Linked DNA regions of Homo sapiens: region 1 is linked to region 2. The links are contacts of gene promoters, found by promoter capture Hi-C in human tissues and cell types (Jung and others, 2019). All regions are on one chromosome and are shown on one strand. Each heading gives the region's core, a stretch centred on a gene start or on the middle of the fragment in contact. The rest is flanking DNA. Distances are from core to core; before and after follow the strand shown.

Region 1 (3,457 bases), core at 613-3,112, 510 kb before region 2:
CTGGGATTACAGGCGGCTGCCACCGCGCCCGGCTAATTTTTGTATTTTTAGTAGAGACAGGGTTTCACCATCTTGGCCAGGCTGGTCTTGAACTCCTGACCTCGGGTCTCCCACCCGCCTCGGTCTCCCAAAGTGCTGGGATTACAGGCAAGAGCCACCACATCCAGCCTTTTTTTTGTTTTTTGTTTTTTGAGACAGAGTCCTGCTCTGTTGCCAAGGCTGGAGTGTAGTGGCATGATCTCGGCTCACTGCAACTTCTGCCTCCCAGATTCAAGCAATTCTCCTGCCTCAGCCTCCCAAGTAGCTGGGACTACAGGTGCACACCACCACGCCCAGCTAATTTTTGTACTTTTAGTAGAGAAGGGATTTCGCCATGTTGGCCAGGGCGGTCTTGAACTCCTGACCTCAGGTGATCAGGTGATCCATCTGCTTCTGCCTCCCAAAGTGCTGGGATTACAGGCATGAGCCACCACGCCTGGCCCTAGAGTTACTTTTTATATTTTATTTATTTTTATTTATTTATTTTTTTGAGACAGAGTCTTGCTCTGTTGCCCAGGGTGGAGTGCAGTGGCGCGATCTGGGCTCACTGCAACCTCAGCCTCCCAGGTTCAAGCGATTTGCCTGCCTCAGCCTCCTGAGTAGCTGGGACTACAGCCATGTGCCACCACGCCCAGCTATTTTTTTTTTTTTTCCGTATTTTTAGTAGAGATGGGGTTTCGCCATGTTGGCCAGGATGGTCTCAATCTCTTGACCTCGTGATCCGCCCACCTCAGCCTCCCAAAGTACTGGGATGACAGGTGTGAGCTGCCGCGCCCGGCCTACTTTTTATATTTTAAAATGACAATATGGAGCAGACCATAACAGTTCTGCCAGTCTGGAATTTAGTCTAGGCAGGGAGTTTGGAAATAGTACAACAATGGTTAAGCTTATCGAAGGAGCTAAATGCCAGGCACTGTTCTACTTCACTTAATCCTCCAATTGCCCAATGAGATGAGTATTGCTATTATCATCCCTATTTCACAGATGAGCAAATTAAGATGAAAATAAGTTAATCAGTGTGCCTATTTTTATAGATTAGTAAGTGGCAGTGCCAAAAATTGGAATCCGTGGTCCCCACTCTTAGCTACCTTACTATACTACCTCTTGCCATTCATTCTTGGCTTCAGGGAGCTTTGAATTTATCTGCATGGATTTGTAGCCAAACCACTGGGACCACTGATCCTTTTGTTACCTTTCTCTGGGCCTCCTTCACCAGCTTCTGGGTCAACTTCTGAGGGGTCATGACGTTCGAACTGCTTGGAATTCCTGAATACAGTGCATTATACATATGCTCTACACGTATCTATTATAGCCTTACAAGTTGGAGTTGTTTGTTATCTATTTAATGTGTATTTGTTTTGTCTCCCCAACTAGACTGGAAACACCTAGAGGACAGGGACAGTATCTTTCTCTTTCTGCAATGCTCCCAGTGCCTGGGGGCTAGGCTAGGACGCCAAGGGAGCTCATTAAAAGTTGTTGACAGTCTCTCCACCATCCTGTGCCCCACCCCGACCACTCCCCTCTTCCTCGGTGGCCACTCCACTTCCTCCTCCCGGGTCCCCGCCCCTTCTCGCTCCCTTTAGTTGAATCCTCACTGGTCTCGCCCCTTCTTAGTGGATTCCATCCTGCCCCCGCCCCCCGCGGCATCTTCAGCGTCCCCTAGCGACGAGGCGGTGGCTCCTAGCAACTGCATCCCGGCTCCCTGACGACGGCGCCACGCAGGGACACGTCAGCGCGCTATGGCCCCGCCCCCGGCGCCCGCTGGTCCCGCCTCCCCGCGCCTCGTTCGCCGCCGCTGTCGCCGCCGCCGCCCGAGACTCGCGCAGAGCAGTTATGGCGGATCCCGCAGCCCCCACGCCCGCAGCTCCCGCTCCAGCCCAGGCCCCGGCTCCAGCCCCGGAGGCAGTCCCGGCCCCAGCCGCAGCCCCCGTCCCGGCGCCGGCGCCCGCCTCGGACTCGGCCTCCGGGCCGTCCTCGGACTCCGGCCCAGAAGCCGGCTCGCAGCGCCTGCTGTTTTCTCACGACCTGGTGTCGGGCCGTTACCGTGGCTCCGTGCACTTCGGGCTGGTGCGCCTCATCCACGGCGAGGACTCGGACTCGGAGGGCGAGGAGGAGGGCCGCGGGAGCTCGGGGTGCTCCGAGGCCGGGGGCGCGGGCCACGAGGAGGGCCGGGCCAGCCCCCTGCGCCGCGGCTACGTGCGCGTCCAGTGGTACCCGGAGGGCGTCAAGCAGCATGTGAAGGAGACCAAGGTGCGGCGGGCGGGGGCTGGGCGGCGCGGGCGGCAGGGGGTCGGCGGCCGGGCCGAGGCCAGGGAAGGACGGCGTGCAGGGCCCTGCCCGGAGCGGTGCCACTGCAGTGGCCGACGCGGGAGGACAGCCCCAGTGGAGGGTACACTCCATGCAAAGTCATTGCAGCAGCTCTGGGCGCACACGCCAGCCAGGCACTGCTGGCCCGGGACCGGGCGGGCCCTGGGCTTCCCGACTTGAGGGGACTTCTAAGACATGTTATGCTGTGGTGTCGGCCTCGAGATTTAGAGACGTGGACCGACTCCCGTGGGGACTCAGGTTCTGGGGCGCGTTCGGCGTTACACCAGTGCGGCGTTTTGCTGACCCCCAAGGAGCTCGGTACTGCATTGTGCATCCAGAAATGAAGGCCGTGCCGGGTCCGTGCAGGGAGGGGTTGTGGGCATTCCAAAACAAAGATAGAGGTGAAAATCCCAGCCGAACCCAAGAAGTTCACTAGCTTACAGGCTGCATTATGGTGAAGCCACCCAGCCTCTTTTTGTTTTACCCTGCTGCCTCCTTTTAATTGCTGCAGGGAACTTTGTGAGTAAAATCATTAGCAATCAGAGCCCCGGTATGAATAGTACTTGGGGGGGAGGATTCTGACAGCTGCGACCGGGATTGATGACTCCTAAGTGCATATGGACTCCTTGAAAAAAATAATCCAGAACCCTGGGTAGAGGGGAGTCACCAATTTGGAAACCCGAAGGTTTTTTCTTGACCTGAAGCTGTTAAGCAGACATCTGACTCCCGTATGGTTTTTGGGGTGATGCTAGTGAGTATAGCAGTTTTACAAAACAAAGAGGCTTGTCATCATAAACCCGAAACCTTGAACCCGGGTTGGTTTGGTGGCTTGTTTTCCAGAATGTGAATTCCTATCAGTAATTGACACACACACACACACACACACACCCCCCTGTATCTCACACCCCTTCTTTCTCTCCTACTTCCCCTCCCCTTCAAGAAAACATTTCTAAGCAGGAATCAGGCCTACGCTGTTTTAGGTCCTTGGGAGGTTGAGAGGTCTGATTTCAGGGGAGGGCACTTTGGAAGTTGATCTGGGTTTCTCACACAGTGGGAGACAAAGACTACAGAGGAACGGGGTTTCATGTCAAACTACAAAGCGGGGTCTGTG
Region 2 (3,805 bases), core at 504-3,003:
ATCCATCTTATTAGAAAGGAAGTGAATTAGGTGTAGGTGGTCTGTAACACCTGCACATCTTTTTATACGTGTAGAGGGTATGCCTGGGATATATAGGTTGTCTTCAAGCAGTAGCTGCTACTACAGCTAGAGAGAGGAGGAGTGCCAGGAAACTGATGACCTGAGACCAAGAGTCTTGTTGATGTTCTGACTTAGATAAAGGTTTTGATCATTTTCATGAAATAATGCAGGGAAGTCATTTCTGCTGTTTCTTTACTACTCCATTCTTGGAGGATTAGAACAAGTCACACTGTAATTGACTAAAACGACTTTTTATTTTAAAATATTGATGGTGGGGTTTTGCTTTTTTTTTTTTTTTTTTTTTTGAGACGTTGTCTTGCTCTTTCACCCAGGGTAGAGTGCAGTGGCGAAATCTTGGCTCACTGCAACCTCTGCCTCCCGGGTTCAAGCAATTCTCTGCCTCAGCCTCCTGAGAAGCTGGGATTACAGCGCCTGCCACCATGCCTGTCTAGTTTTTTTGTATTTTTAGTAGAGACAGGGGTTTCACCAAGTTGGCCAGGCTGGTCTTGAACTCCTGACCTCGTGATCCACCCACCTCGGCCTCCCAAAGTGCTGGGATTACAGGCGTGAGCCACCGTGCCGGGCCAGTGTTTTTAACTGTCCACACTTACTAAATTTTCCAGTACTTCTTCCTATGGTTCATGATAGTAAACACAGAAACATATAAGGAACATTATTAGAGTTACCAGATGTTAGCTGTTGCATATGTGCACATTCCTAGATTCAAGGGTGTTTTTGCCTTAAATTTAAGTGGGTCATTGGTTGTCTTGGGAAGATCATGGAAAATTCGGGATTTTTTAGAATTCTGAACCAAAATATGTTTTGAGTGTTTCTTAGTAAATGTGTGATCTTCCACCTTCCACATTCAGACTGCGGACTACACTTCATAAATGCCTTTTTATTTCCAGTTATGGATTCAACTAAATGACTGCCTTGGGAGCACATAATTACTTTGCTACCTTTTTCCCCCTTTGCTGTTGTGGCTCGAGTTTGGTTCTCACCTGAGAAGATGCATTGAGCATATGTTGTTACCCAGCCCTGGCTTAATGGTGTCCTGTGGGGTAGGGGTGGGAGGACGAGGGGCACGGGGCCAGAGCATGTGAATGGATCATGGTTGGACAGCTGTGACCTGCCAGCACTGCGGGTAAGCAAAACTACAAACCGTTCTTTCCTCTGTGACATTGAATAAACCTTAATAAAATTCATAATTAGCACATACTAGAAAAAATGTGACTTAATCTTTTTGTGGGGCGACAGTATTGGGTTTCATTCTGGCTATACAGCTTTGATTGGATCATTAAACAGGTCAGTCACTTCCCTCAAGCTTTGGGGTGTGGAATAAACACCGGTGAATTTGTGGATTCACCCGTCAACCTCCCAATATCAACACATTTCTCACGCCTCCGCGTCGGCCACGTGTCAGCCCTCAGAAGTGGGCAGGAGGAACTTTTAAGCTTCCCGGCAGTTCCCAAGAGGGCCTTTGAGCCTGGCGCCCTCTTCCCGGAGAGGCGTTGGGGCAGCTCCTAGCAACGTGCCCGCCGCCGGCAGAAGCCCGGCCCCGCCAACTGCCGCGCGCGGCTCCCTGGGAGCTGTAGTTCTTCATGGCGTCCCCACCTCCTCTGTGAGGGCGGGTGAGTCGACCGCCGACTGCGACTCCCAGGATGCCTCGCGCCCGCCTTTCCGCGGGAGGCCAGACGGCTGAGGGTGCCGGCAGCGGCTGGAAGCGGGAGGCCAGTCCTGGCCGGGCTGGGCGACCCGAATGGAGCCAGGGCCGGCGCTGGTCCCAGCGGCCGCACCTCCGGGGGCACGGCGCGTAACAGGAGGCTTCCGGGGCTGAGAGCGTTACAGGCTGCGCTCCGGGGCCAGATAGGCCGGGCGCTCAGAAGGGTGACGCATTGAGGGGCGCGGAGTCTCGGGACGGAGGGGCGACTCCGGCTAGGGGTCTTGCTTAGGGGTGGTCTCGGGATCTGTAAAACGCCTGGCATGGAGTCGGCTGAATACATGTGGGGACGGGGTTACTCTGTAGCCCTTTGGCCTTGGCAAACCAAGCCTAGAAAATCCCCATAGTCTGAGAAGCCCGTACAGGATCGATAGGAGATGCCAGAAGTTCCTTGATGTGTTATGGGACACATTTGGACTTGTAGGTCGTGAAGTCGCCATTGCAGAGAAAAAGAAACAAGGCCGGGCACGGTGGCTCACGCCTGTAATCCCGACACTTTGGGAGGCCAAGGCGGGAGGATCACTTGAGGCCAGGCGTCTGGGACGACCCTGGGCAACATAGGGAGACCCCCGTCTCTACAAAAAAAATTTTAAAATTTGCCGCACATGGTGGCGTGTGCCTGTGGTCCCAGCTGCTAGGGAGGCTGACATTGGAGGATCGCCTGAGCCCAAGGAGGTCGAGGCTGCAGTAAGCTATGAGAGCTGTGATCGTGCCACTGCACTCCAGCCTGGGCAACAGAGCGAGACCCTGTCTGGAAAAAAAAAAAAGAAAGAAGGCCAGGCGTGGTGGCTCACACCTGTAATCCTAGCACTTTGGGAGGCCGAGACGGGCAGATCACGAGGTCAGGAGTTCGAGACCTCCTGGCCAACAGTGAAACCCCGTCTCTACTAAAAATACAAAAATTAACCGGGCATGGTGGCATGTGCCTGTATTCCCAGCTACTCGGGAGGCTGAGGCAGGAGATTCGCTTGAACCCGGGAGGCTGAGGTTGTGGTGAGCCAAGATCGCACCACTGCACTCCATCCTGGGCAACAGAGCAAGACTCCGTCTAAAAAAAGAAAAAAAAGAAAACACATGTATTCAGGGTGGGCTCTGTAGGTAAGCCCAGATAACCCTTGCATTCCAATAACAGGACAGGCCAATACTTGGGACATAAAGAGGACCCCTCTGACTCCTTTCTTCCAGGACATCCTGTAGGTGGGTTTTGGTAAAGTGGAGGAGGGGGAGGGAGACAGCTAATTCCGAGGAAAATGTTCTCAATGGGTCAGATTTACTGCCTATGTAAAGGGAAATATTTCCACTGTCAGTGAAAATCGTGTTGCTGGACGTGGTGGCTCACACCTGTAATCCCAGCACTTTGGAAGACCAACGCAGGAGGATTGCTTGAGCCCCAGAGTTCAATACCAACCTGAGTAACACAGTGAGACCCCGTCTCGAAAAAAAAAATTTTAAAAAGAAAAAGAATATCAAAGAGTAACCAGAGTTCATACCTGCTTTTGTGCTAAATGCTGCCTAGAAAGTAGTCATGGGTGTTGCCTGGGAAAGGGTTTCAGCCTTGGTGCCAGGCACCCACCTCCTTTCTGAAATGAGTACTTGCCACTTGCTGCATCGGCTTTCAGGGTAAGGGATGATGGCCACTGCCCTTTTTTCAAGTAATCTCAAAGCCTCAGAAAGCCCATTAAGTTATCCAGAGCACGTTTTTTTTTTTTTTTTTTTTTTGGAGACAGAGTCTCGCATGTTGCCCAGGCTGGAGTGCAGTGGGGCGATCTCGGCTCACTGCAACCTTCTCCTCCTAGGTTCAACCTAGTCTCCTGCCTCAGCCTCCTGAGTAGCTGAGATTACAGGCATATGCCACCATGCCCAGCTAATTTTTGTATTTTTAGTAGAAATGGGGTTTCACCATGTTGGTCAGGCTGGTCTTGAACTCCTGACCTCAAATGATCTGCCCACCTCAGCCTCCCAAAGTGCTGGGATAACAGGTGTGAGCCACCGCGCCCAGCCTGAGAGTACTTTGCTCCTCTTCTG

The links. The method cuts DNA at HindIII sites, captures the fragments that hold promoters and counts their contacts. A contact is called where the count stands out against the background at its distance.
Region 1: a contact is called between the fragment with the promoter of UBE2O here and the fragment with the promoter of FBF1 in region 2, in 2 of the 25 tissues and cell types used here (H1 embryonic stem cells and spleen).

Annotation. Positions count from the first base shown.
Region 1 is chr17:76,451,557-76,455,013 of GRCh38, reverse strand. UBE2O (ubiquitin conjugating enzyme E2 O) reads left to right here and starts at 1,862. Exons shown (of 18, transcript NM_022066.4): 1 at 1,862-2,289. The coding sequence starts at 1,873. It also overlaps a transcript of AANAT not described here. RefSeq lists silencers at 1,688-1,856, 1,651-2,190, 2,311-2,510. The HindIII fragment of the contact is 12,276 bases long and covers 1-3,457 here.
Region 2 is chr17:75,938,990-75,942,794 of GRCh38, reverse strand. FBF1 (Fas binding factor 1) reads left to right here and starts at 1,753. Exons shown (of 30, transcript NM_001319193.2): 1 at 1,753-1,947. ACOX1 (acyl-CoA oxidase 1) reads left to right here. Exons shown (of 14, transcript NM_004035.7): 14 at 1-1,288. RefSeq lists an enhancer at 1,535-1,604 and a silencer at 1,715-1,984. The HindIII fragment of the contact is 5,258 bases long and covers 1-3,805 here.